Regions from separate parts of the Homo sapiens genome. Here region 1 is linked to region 2. The links are contacts of gene promoters, found by promoter capture Hi-C in human tissues and cell types (Jung and others, 2019). All regions are on one chromosome and are shown on one strand. Each heading gives the region's core, a stretch centred on a gene start or on the middle of the fragment in contact. The rest is flanking DNA. Distances are from core to core; before and after follow the strand shown. Region 1 overlaps WNK2 (WNK lysine deficient protein kinase 2). Region 2 holds the start of BARX1 (BARX homeobox 1).

Region 1 (5,964 bases), core at 926-3,425, 640 kb before region 2:
GTTCAAAGAGAGCTTCAGGATCTCCATCCCACTTGTTCAAAGTTACCACTGACAGCTCTGCTCTTCTCTGCGCCTGATGTGGGCGCAATGGGTTTGGCACCCATTGAGTGGAAAGTCTGCTCAACTTTCATTTTTCTGTCAGAATTGTGTAAGCTCAACCTACTGAGCTGTCTGTGGTGTTGGCCACTATTTCTGCTGTTAACCACCCGTCCTCTGCACTTACGGCTCAGACCAGATGAGTGTTTTCCTCACAAAGTGATGCGGATGGCCTGCCGCTGTGGGCTCCGTCTTCAGCATGGTCTCATCCCTTCTTAAAACAAGTCAACCATTTGTAAACTGCTATTTTCTTTGGGGACATGGACCCTGTAAACTTTTCAGAAAGCATCAGTGATCTCACCATTCTTCCACCCAAGCTTCACCATACATGTGATGTTGGTTCTTGCTTGGCAGAATTCACGTTATTGTGATAGGGGCTCTTTTCAAACTGAAGTCTTCTCCTTCTTAGTGCCTCAGACTACCTCCTCTTCAGACATGCTGCAATAAGTTAGTACAAGTTTATTTGGGTACAAAGATTTTTTTTGAAAGTCATGCATAGTTTTTTCATGGTATGTCTTTTCCATGAACTTTTTGAAGACCCCTTGTGTGTGTGTGTGTGTGTGTGTGTGTGTGTGTGTGTGTGTATATAATGGATATAGTCTACCAATCTGTGGTTTGTGTTTTCACTTTCTTAATGGTGAACATGAAATGGTAAAAATTTTAATTTTTTTTTTCCTAAAAGCTTTGCAGCTTTAGCTATTGCTTTAGATCCCATGAGCCATCTCAAATGAACTCTTGAGTATATTTTGATGCAGAGGTAAATCTGTTTTTTTCCTCTCTGCATATCTGATCGTTCCAGCCCCTTCCTCTCCATATTGAATTGCACTGAATTGAGCAGACATTCGTCAAGTGGTCGTCTGTGTGTAGGTCCATTTCTGAATTTGCTATTTTGTTTGCTTTAGCAATTCCCTTATCATTGTGGCAACACCACACTCTCTTCATGACTGAAGTTTTCTAGGAAGTTTAATCTTTGCTCAGGAAAGACTTTCAGTGTTGATCTTCTTCAAGAAGTTCTTGATTTTTTTCAGGTCGTTAATATTTCCATATGTTTTAGGAACAGCCTGTCACTTTCTGCAGGCTAGCCCACTGGGATTTCGGCTGGGAGTGGATTCAGTCTGTTGATTATCTGGGTGAGGTTTGACATATGAACAACATGAGCGTTCCTGTGAATGTAGTGTCCGTTTACTGGCATCTTTTTTGTTTCTCTGCAGTGTAAAGATGTTATACCTCTTTCATTAAATTTATCCCTAGGTAGCTGATGTTTTGGAATGCTATTATAAATGTTATTTTTCTTTAAATCTCCTTTTCCAGCTTCCTGTTGCTAGAATATAAAACTATGGTTGACTTTCGTACCCCATATCCTGCAATTGTGCTAAATTTGCTATTAGTTCTAGAAATTGGTTTGTCCATTCTTGTGGGTTTTCTGCATACACAGTCTTGTCATCTGCATGAGGCCAGTTCTCCTTCTCTCTGTCCAGTCTGTGCGGTTGACTCCTTTTCCTCCCCGCCTGGAGATCCCCGTGGTGTCGACTGGAAGCATGGAGGCACCTTGGGGAGGTATTGGGCATTTTGTCGTGGGCAGGGGCTCAGCTGTCGGTTCCATAGAGGACCTTCCAGATAAGGAGGCCCCTCCAGCCCCTGACTGCCGAGCTTGATTTCCAGGAAGGGTTGTGGAAGTCACCGAGTGCCCTCCATGCACCTGTGAAGAGTGCCCAGTGGGGCCCTCCCTGGAGTGGAGAGGAGTGACTCCCCGTGGCCAGCAGCCTTGCCTTCCTGGGGCACACCCCGCATACAGCTTCTCCCCGGGCTGGGACAGTGGAAGGGCTGCCTTGCCATCACCTCCCTGCACACTTGCTTTGCCCAGGTCCTGGGGCTCTGCTCCTGCCAGCTCCTGGGTGGTTCATGCTCCTGTGAGGGCACTGACCAGCCAAGCAGGAGGGCTTTGTGGTGGCTGAGTAGAGGCATGTGGGGTCACTCATGCGCCCTCAGGGTCCAGGCCCCACTAGTCCTCCTCCAAGTCCCATTTTGGCTGGTGGACACCCAGGTGTGTGGCCTAGAGGCTATCAGGCTGCAGCTTGGGGAAGCAAACAAGGGAGGGTGATGGTTCCTGGCCCCACACCATCATTCTGGTGTCAGCCCTGAGAGGGTGCCTGTCACAGCAGGTTCCAGGACTGCTGCCTCCTGAGGATGGAGAAACTGTGGCACCCTGGGGGCCACTAAGGGAGGCCAGCTGATTGCAGCCACGTGTACCTTCCTCTTCTCGTCTCTGTGTTTTGTAGATGACCGCACCTCGAGCAGGAGTGGGGATGCCACGTCTGCCCCCAGCGCCCGGCCCTCTGTCCACCACGGTCATTCCCGGAGCCGCCCCGACCCTGTCCGTGCCCACACCAGGTACTGCCCTCTCCAACCTCCCAACCCCACCCTGTGCGCTGCCTCTGGGTCAGTACAGAGGCCTGCTCCCAGCTCCAGTGTCCTGGGGGCCCTGGGCAGGCCAGGTGGGCCAGCTGGGGGCACAGGGCAGCTGGAACACCCCCCAGGTGCCCGTGCTGCCAGTCTTCTTGCAGCCACCTGTGGTCAGCATGCCTGGCCCCCGGCTGCGGATCACGTAGCCTTCTGCCCTGTCCCTTGCCAGATGGCGCCCTCGGAACCGCCCGGAGAAACCAGGTGTGGTTTGGCCTCCGAGTCCCCCCCACCGCCTGCTGTGGGCACAGCACTCAGCCGCGAGGGGGACAGCGGGTGGGCAGCAAGACTGCTTCCTTTGCGGCTTCAGACCCTGTTCGCTCCTAGGTTCCTGTGGTCCACGCGCCGTCTCCACACCCACTTCCTATACTTGAGTTGATGGTTAGAACCTTGTCGTCACCCTGCAGAAGTACAGTGCCTTGAATGCCAGCTTTTCCGTTCCCTGATGAAAAGATATGTTAAAAAAAATTATCGGAAAAGGTTTCATTTGCAATTGGCTTGTGCATTGATAATCTTTATTTACTGTTTTAAGTTGCAGAGATGTGAATGGTTTACAAATCTGAAGCTGAAGTTCAATCTTTGGTTTTCTGTTGTAAATGCCTTTTACAAACATTGAATTAGCTACCTTAAGTATTGAAGAGCTTCCATTGCTAGGTGAGCCCTGCTTTGTCCTCAGTAGAGTGCCGGTTCCCTGGGCTCATCCAGGGGCTGAGAGACGGCGGGACGCTGGGGCAGGGCACACTGGCGGAGCTGCTTGCTCAGTAGGGAATGTCAGTTGTTGCGCTGGGCCATGAGAAATCCGCCAGAAAACGTTAGGTGAGCAGACATGCCCCCCATGCCAGTGGGCTGCTGTGAGTGAGGATAAGGTGTGTGTTGGGCATAGAAACCCTGGCTGCCCGCCCACCCTGTGGAGACAAGTGCAGCTCCTCCAGCTGGAGAGGCTGCCCTCTCTCCTGCCCACTTCCCTCCCTTCTCCATGATTTCCATGGAGACCTGTGGCTCTGCTCACCCCTGGCATGCAGACCGCTCTCCCGTCCAGCCCTAAGCCTGCTCTGCGGAGGGCGGGGTCATTCTTCTCCTGGAGATTTCAGTGGGACTCGTCCCCAGTGGGCACAACACAGCCCTTGGTGGGAGGGGAAGGCCCCAGCCTCCTCCACCTCCCACTGGAAAGCAGACTGCTTGGGACTGCCCAGCTGTGAATTGTATAGTTTCTGTACTTATTAGAACTGGGTAAATTATTTTGGTTCAAATCTATTATTCCATCAATTCAGTTAGAATTGAATTTTCTAGGTGATTATGCAGAATCTTCTGCCAGGGCACGATGCTGTCGTAAGAGATTTCTGTTCTCTGTACTGGGCCCCCTTGCCCTGTTCCTTGAGTGAAGTGGGGGCTGCCCTCACCTGTCCCCCTTGCCTGTGAATCCCTTCCTTGTACATGGTGGTCAGTGGCACGGAATCCCCAATAGATTGTATATCTGAAGGAGAAAAATAAACACTTTTGCTCGAAAACAGTGTGAAACAACATCTTTTTCTTACCCTCTATCCATATAAAATCCAAAGCAACCAGCCTCCTAGGGAGCACAGGAGTTGGGAGCCAGTTCTGGGCTCAGCTGCATCCACACCTCTGGAGGAGGGTGCTGAGGGGCTGCGGGTGCTGGGCTGGGCTGTCCCCGGCAGGGGTCTGAGAGCAGGGCATCTGGCAGGGCTGCCTGGCCCCCAACACTGCCCCCGCCAGCTGTGGCCTGGGCCCCGAGCACGGTCAGCTCTGCTGGTCGGGTTAGCTGGCTGGGCTGCCCACCACTCTGCACCTGATTACACTTAGCAGTGCCACGGGCTGTGACCATGATGGAGGGAGCCAGCCTCCTGGTCAGCGAGACACACCTGCAGCCCCTGTCTCCAGGAGGCTTGGTTTGCATTACTTGCTGCAGCCCCTGGGGCCACCCTCTTTGCTCCAGATGGGCCGAGCTCAGGGGAAGTGGGAGCTCCTCAGATGAGCTTGGACTTGTTGAGAGGAGGACTTGGGGCTGGGGTTGCCCATGGATCATGCAAGGGGCAGTGGCTTTTCTGGTAGGCACAGGGGCCTTAGGGAAGGTGGCCATCCAGGGTGGGGCCTCATCCTGTGGGACTCAGCGCATGGTGGCAGCCAGCCCCCCAGCATCCCACTAAAGACAGCCTCGAGCTGACTGTGGTCCCTCCTGCGTGTGCATTGCAGGCCTCACTGTGAGCAAGCTGAGGGTCCCAGTGTCTCCTGCCCGGTCCACTGTGGGGGCTGCCTTGGCTGTGGGGCCACCTCCTCAGAGAGCTGCAGTGCCAGCCTTCGAGCTTCTGCATGGAGGGAGGAGGAACACTCATCCCAGAGCCTCCTGTTTTGGGTGTTGGAGGGCAGCTCACTCCCCAGATGCTCCAGACGGTACAGGAGCAGAGCGTCTGTTTGGGTTTCTGGCAGCCGTTCAGTGTGCTGACTGGTCACACAAAGAAGGGTGGTCCAGGTGACAGAGGCCGCCAGGGCTGTGCTGAGGACAAGACCATCTACACAGGGCGTGGGTCATGGCAGAGCTGGCGCAGCCTTCCCGTCGGCAGCTCCTGGGAGGGTGTCAGGGCCTGGCCCTTGGCGAGTGGCCAGCACTGCGGTGGGCCCACAGTCAGCTGCGCGGTTTTGTTTTCCAGATCCTGAGAGTGAGAAGCCTGACTGACCCCGCCTAGACGCCAGGCCCACTTCACGCCGTCTAAGTGGAGAAGTGACGGACCCTCAGGGCCAGCTGCTCCTCCTGTCCAGTTCACGCTGTTTTGTAACCACTTTCTAAGCATTTTTTATTCACAATTGGAAACACAAATGTAATGCAAGAATAAAAAATATTTTGGGGCAGAAAGGACTTTGGTTTTTCAAACTATTTCCTCTCTGGTGGCCCTCGGCCAGCCAGGTGACTGGGATGTGACAGGGGTGGGGGGACATTCCCAGGACCCTGGCATGCTCAGGATAGCCCTGTTCTCTGCAGGGCCCTGGAGGTGGCGGCCCCGGGGAGGCTGATCTCCAAGTCCCCCCGATGCCAGCTGGCACGGACTCGGGGTCCTGGGTGCCTCCTGGCCTTTGCTCACGGAGCTCCATGAGGCAGACCCTTCCCTCTGGTCTTTGGAGGCTTGAAGTCACCCACCACCCCCACACCCACCTCCCAGGCACCCTCCTTCCAGAATTCACCTGCACTGGCAGGGAAAACACCAGTGGCCTGGGGCCAGAAACCTCTGGCTGTGGGGTGGCAGGTCTGAGACCACTGGCTCCTTGGAGGGCTGCATACCCCCCACTCGTGGGAGGGGTCCTAAGTGTGAGAAACGAGGAATGTTGACATGGCCTCACCAAGGAAACGTGCCGTGGTAAGGTCCCCACACCCTAGCCTGGCCAGCAGGCACAGGA
Region 2 (5,987 bases), core at 2,549-5,048:
ATCTTGCCGAGCCCACCCCCACCCCCACCCTCACCCCCTGCGGATTCAGAAGCTGCTCCACCGAGCCCGATTGTGTCATAAAATATTTTATTGGAAAAAAAGTCACCGTCTTCGCAAGAGGGGGTAGGGGCCCCAGCGACATCGGGGACCCGGCCTCCAGGCCGAGCCGACGGGTTGCCCCGGGGCAATCTCAGGCCGTTGTGGCCTGAGCCCAACCGCTGGGTCCCCGACGTCCAGAAGCGGGTGTGTGCCTGGAGGCTCCCCGGCCGGGAGGGCAGGCCCCAGACGGGGTGGGGGTGCAGGCGAGGAGCGGGGCGTGAATACGCGTGGAGCGCTCTGCGCCACGGAGCTCAGGGTAGAGACTGTAGCTTCCGCCGGGCTGGATGCGAGTCTCCCAGGTTAGAGCCCAGAAGCGCGCTGGGACCTGGGTCTGGCTTTTGGGTCTGTGTCCTTCCTCGTTTGGCCCCAATTGTCCGCATTCAAGATCATAATAAAAAGGCTTAGGAAGTAAACTTCTTGGACGCGGAAGGGCCGGCTCGCGGGTTTCCGCCGAGTGAGGGGGCTGCGGGTGGCGCGGGCATCCCAGGCCCCGCACCGTATACCGCCCTCAGTCCTCGCGGCTCCTGTCGCTGGGCTCGCCCGGCACCTCCGCCGGTTTCTCTGCATCCTTGGCGCGCTCCTGCTCAGTAAGCTGCTCGCTCGTTGGAATTGAGTTCTTCTTGGGCCGCCCCTTGGGCTTGGTGGGAGACTCCAGGCCGCCGCCCTGCAGCACCTGCACGGGGGACCGCCAGCACCTGGGTGAGCCAGCACGTGGACTGGGGACCCCCGAGGAGACTTGAACCCAGGTAGGACTAAGGAGTGCAGGGTCCATATGAGGAAATGGTGGGGAAATGTCCCGGGAAATGGCGGCCATTTGTCCAAATGCCGCCTGGGGAGCGGCCCGGCCTGGGGAGCATAAGACTGCCAGGAGGCCTGAAGGTGCCGCGGGAAAGGACGAAATGTTGGCTTACCCAAGGGGCAGAAAAAACTGAGAGGATTCCGGTGCGTACCAGGCACCGAGGGAATCGGGGGGTTGGGCAGAGTCTCAGTGGGGAGAAAGAGGAGAGCAGCTCTGCATGCACCGGGGCATGGCCCAGGAAGCTGAGGGGTGGGAAGCCACCAGGCACACTCACTATTTTCTTCCACTTCATCCTCCGATTCTGGTACCACGTCTTCACCTGCAACTGGCTCAGGCCCAGGGACTCAGCAAGATCTATTCTGGAAAGAGCAGGGCGCACCCTCAGCAAGGCAAGTGACCACACTCCCACAGCCCGCTGGCCCCAGCCTTGTACCGCCCTACCTGTCCGGCGTGGAAAGGTACTTCTGCTTCTCGAAGCGTTTCTCCAGGCCCATCAGCTGCAGCTCGGTGAACACAGTGCGGCTCCGACGCCCCTTCTTGGCTTTGGTGCCTGGCTCCCCAGGGCCTGCCGCCTCCAGCTTCCCGCGGAGCTGCAACTCGAGCGGCAGGTGTGGCGCACCCGCGGCGCCGGGCAGCCCGGGCCCTGCCGCCAGCAACGCAGAGCTCAGCCCTGAACAGCCCAGCGGCGCCAGTGGGAACTTGAACACCGCCGCCTGCTCGGCCTTCAGCACGGCTGCGAAGAAAGAGAATGAGGACCCGGGTGAGCTACGGCCGCGCTCCTCTGCCCCAGGGACTGCCGCACCACGTGCCGCGGGGGTGCTCGCGCTTGGCCAGTGCCTCCCAGCGCAAAACCTCCACGCCCTGCCGGTCGGCGCCGGTGGCGCAGATGGAGACCCTCCTCAACGTTGCCGTTCCCCAGATTTGGGAGGGAGTATCTCCTCGACCCTGTCCGTGTTCTGTCCTGGAGTTCCCCAGGCCTCAGCTGCCTCTGAGATCTCGGGGTTCCTGATGAACATGTTTGCAGCTGCGAGAAACTCGGAGTGTGTCTTGTCTTTCGGGGAAAGTAGAAACCAAAAAGAAAACGGCAGCTGGTCCTAAGAAGATGGCGTTTGCTCCAACCAAATCAGCCTTGCTGCGTTAGAAAAAGAACATGCACGGAGCGTGCACATTTGCTCTTCCGTGCGTGGCACAACAGCCATGCGGTGGCCAGGAGTCATCTGGGCCGGAGTTGGGTGCTTCCCGGAAATTCCAAAGTACCCTGAGAACCTGGAAATTATTGTTCACGTTTTCTATTTTCAGACGCTTCCCCATGCAGATGTTTCCATTTTCTTCAGTCCTAAAATGATTGTGTGCCCGCTTCAAACGAATTAGTAGCAACAGAGCAGATGGAGACGAAAGGTAGCCGAATGGCCGAGTCCCAGCTGGACTTAGAAGGAGCGCGCTGGCCCTGCCGTCTCCAGGCTAGGGAGCACCGACTAGGAGGTGGGGGGGTGCAGGGAAGGCGACTTGAAGGGCTGGGGTCCCGGCTACAGCGTAGGAGCCTCCCTTCCCCGACAGGCCTGTCACTGAGGTGCGAGTCCTAGCCTGGCTGGAGTCGGAAAGGGCAGGGCAAGGCGCAGGTAAATGTGGGGCAGAGGACCCGTAGGGAAAAGGTGGGAGATGGGAGGCAGGCCGACCCCAATGAGAGAAGCGAGGGAGGCCGACCGGCAGACGGTTGGAAAGCGAGATAGGGAAAGACAAGACGAGGGTGGAGTGCGATGGAGACAGCACCATCAGGGCAGAGCAGGCCCCGCCAAATTAGAAGAAAGGGCAGAAGCTGAAAAGGTCTGCGCAGGCCGTTCAAGCCCTGCAGAGGCCCAGCCGACCTGAAACCAGAAGGGACAGCCAGGCAGCTGCTCACAGTCAGGCCTCTGGCCCCAAGGCAAGGCCGAAGCAGGTCCGCACTGCGGCCAAGGCCGCGTTCCTCGCCCGCTGGAGCTCCCGGGGACTCCGGGCCGGCTTGGGCCCGCGTCAGCACCCAGCCCTCGGGAGCGCAGGCCTCCTCCCCAGAGGTCCGACTTCCCTGGGTTGGGCAGCCGCGGCCACTCCCGGCCATCCCTCTGCGGCGAAGCCCAGGCGCCCGTGGCCTGAGGTCGCTTCCACCCACGAGAGTCCGTAGCCTGGCAGTGCGCCTGCACTGGGGATGCTCACTCGGGGTCCCCGGGCTGGAGGCCGAAGGGAAGCAGTGAAGGAAAGAGCGAACACCCTCCCCGGGCGGCCCGCGGGCACGAGGCCTGGTTTCTGTGAGGCCTGGAGCTTGCACCCTCCGCCTCCCGCCTGGAGGGCTCCGAGAGACGGTCCCAGAACCTGCGCTCCCAGAGCAGCTTCCCGGGGCTGCTTCGATGCCGGAGGAGGCTCGGGGCGCCCCCGCGGTTCAGCTCGCTGTCTCCCGCCAAGCCCGGCCCGCGACCCCGCGGCCGCCACACGTACCCAGGTGGCTGTGGAAGGGCCGCGCCGCCAGCAGCGCCTGCACGCCGAACTTCAGCAGCTCGCCCGCCGCGGCAGCGGCGGCTGCGGGCGCGGCGCCCTTGGGCCCGGGTGGCTCCGTGAGGATCTCCTCAATCATGAAGCTGCGATAGCGGTGCGGCCGGTGGTCCGCGCAGCCCTCGGGCGGGCCGAAGCGCGCGGCGCCCGGCTCCCCCGGCCGCTGCATCGCGGCGCCCACTGCTGCGCCCGCGGTTTGGCGGCGGCGGCGGCGACGGCTTGGCTCCGGCGCGGGGCCCGCGCGGGGCTCTAGGCCGGCCCGCAGCTCGGGGCGGCGCGCGGGCGCCGGCTCATGCCCCCTCCCCCGCCGGCCGGCCGGGCGGAGGCGCAGGGCGCGGGCGGGGCGCGCGGGGCTCGGCCGGTCGAACCCGGGACTGCGCCCCCTCCCCACGCCGCCGCGCCTCTTGCCCGGCCAGCCCCGCGTCACCGCCCCGCCCCGCCCCGCCCCGCGCCGCCGCCCCCAACCCCTAGGCTGAGCCGGAGGGAGGGACCCAGAAGGGAGGGAGGCGGAAGGGAGGCCAAAAAGGAGGGGGCCACGTGAAAGAGGCCGGCCGACCGAGACCGAGGGAGACTGAGCGGAGCGCACGCCCTGGAAGGAGAGAGCCGGAGAGTTCGGGAGGCAAGACCCCCAGAGACGAGAGTCGGAGGGATCAAACGACACAGGTGAGAGAAGGGGCAGAGGCAGACGGCGTGGGCCAAACAAGATTCCAGACAGTGATGTGAGGGCACCAGAGACGCCACCGAGATGTGCGCAGAGAGACCAAAAGAGGCGTGAGAGCCAGCGGGCTGTGACGTGACGGAGGGCACAGAGGCAGGCGGGGCAGAGGAAGGGGGCGGTAAAGAAATGGGAACAGCTAGAAAACCGGCGGCTTGATCGGCTTTTAGGTAGCCCCGGAAAGGTCGGGAGGAGGAGGGGCAAAGGCCGCGCTCCTCAGCTGGGAAGGAGGTGGTCTCAAGCAGCCTCCAGTCCCGGGCTCAACACCGCCAACCCGGCAAGGGTGAGGCAGCGTTCAGGGATGCAAGGGGCAGAGCGGTAGCGGCACCTGTGCACCCCTCCCACCTCTGCCTCAGTTTACCATGTACGGCCTCATTTCTCTCCGGGCTGCCCTGAGAGAAAAATGTTCTCCAGCCGAGATTTGCTTGAATTGGAAATTCAAGTGATCCATGGACACATCCTCCTTGACAGCCCCCAGAAGACTGTAGGCTGGTTACATCCCCCTAGTTAGAAAAGGAAAAGGATTCGAGGAGAAGGGAAGGATGCAGCTTTGCCTTTTCCCAGCTTTGGGGCATCAAGAAACTGTTACTGGGCGGAGTTGGGGCCAGGGGGCCAGTGGGTGCTCTGAGAGTGTAAAGACCAAACTCTGGTGGGACCTGGCTCCATTGCGGAGCCTCAAAAGCTCCAACATGGTGGAGGAAGTTGGCAGTACCTTCTCTAGATCTTTCTTTCCATCCTTAGAAGAGTATAAGCCCAAGCCGTGGAGTGAACAACCCCAAAGCTACCCTACGCTGAACTCCTCTCTTTGGTCCTGCCACTACTGGTGAAACCACTGACCCTTTCTGGGCCTGTTTCCTTACCTGTCCTGAGGAGATGCTGACCTTTGGCTCCAGAGAGACTGTGAGAACTCAGTGAGGGGGTCCTGCACTCCGAGGGTCCTGCACCCTGGGAGCCCTTAGGTCTGTTTGGAGAGAAAACAGTTCCTCCAGGCAAGAGGGGAGAAGTGTCCCCAGGAGGTTGGGGGAGGAGCATCTGCCCTCCTCCTTCTCAGGAATCACAGGGCCTACCTCCTAGCCCCATCCACCATTGCCAGTCAGCGCCTGATGCACTGGGGGTGTCCTGGGCCACCCGGACTTCCTCTGTGAGCTCCATGTGGGGCCTCAGTCTTTACCTCAGGTAACTAGGGCTTACCACACCTACAGCCATGCCCCCCACCCAAGTTGAAGTCCTTTCTCCAGCTCCAGCTGCTGGTGGGGAGGCCTTCAGGCTGGCCCTCAGTCCCTGGCACCTGCCCCAGACTCGGGAGTGGGGGTGGGGGGCAGGTGGGGACTAGGAAGTGGCCCAGATCCTTTGTCTGTAGGGCCTGGAGTGAGGACAAAGACTACCTTACTCTGGTAAGATCCCAGTCCCAAGAGCCCACTGTCTCTCCTTCCCAGTTGTTGCATGACTTTCTGAACTCAGAGTTACCATTGGGACTGAAAGAAGGTGGCCTCAATGGCCGCCAGTTGCTTCGGACTCCCTCGGAGAGTGGTGCTGTGAGCCTACATGGTTCTTTGGAAAGGGTGGAGAGGGGCGCACTAAGAGCAACAGTATCCCACACTGAGCAGGCCTCCTCCTGAGAGACCAAGAGACCAGGAAGCTGGCCCTGTCGCTGTTGGCCAAGCAGCCACTGACATCCTACCTGGCAAATAGAAACAAGCCAGTGTCTCCTGGGAGGCTGGGGCAGCCCAGTCAGGCTCCCCCTATCAACGGGTAGACTCAGAGAACCCTCCCTAGATGAGTGCAATAGTATCACTCAATCCAACCATCTCCTTTTTCAGATGGGAAACTGAGGCCCAGCAAGAGGCAGCC

What was found. Contacts are between HindIII fragments. The study calls those that stand out against the background at their distance.
Region 1: a fragment that was not itself captured here is called in contact with the fragment with the promoter of BARX1 in region 2 in 1 of the 25 tissues and cell types used here (lymphoblastoid cells).

Annotation. Positions count from the first base shown.
Region 1 is chr9:93,315,145-93,321,108 of GRCh38, forward strand. WNK2 (WNK lysine deficient protein kinase 2) reads left to right here. Exons shown (of 30, transcript NM_006648.4): 29 at 2,376-2,487; 30 at 5,223-5,425. The coding sequence ends at 5,248. Among named protein-coding and RNA genes, the nearest start is that of FAM120A, 130 kb to the right of the region's middle. The HindIII fragment of the contact is 4,172 bases long and covers 90-4,261 here.
Region 2 is chr9:93,951,557-93,957,543 of GRCh38, forward strand. It overlaps BARX1 (BARX homeobox 1), which reads right to left and starts at 3,799. Exons shown (of 4, transcript NM_021570.4): 1 at 3,368-3,799; 2 at 1,340-1,631; 3 at 1,173-1,257; 4 at 71-772. The coding sequence starts at 3,590. The coding sequence ends at 608. BARX1-DT (BARX1 divergent transcript) reads left to right here and starts at 4,278. Exons shown (of 2, transcript NR_144455.1): 1 at 4,278-5,312; 2 at 5,957-5,987. It overlaps LOC124902216 (a long non-coding RNA gene), which reads left to right and starts at 3,970. Exons shown (of 3, transcript XR_007061672.1): 1 at 3,970-4,084. RefSeq lists enhancers at 1,253-1,817, 1,818-2,381, 3,793-4,324, 4,325-4,855. The HindIII fragment of the contact is 32,678 bases long and covers 1-5,987 here.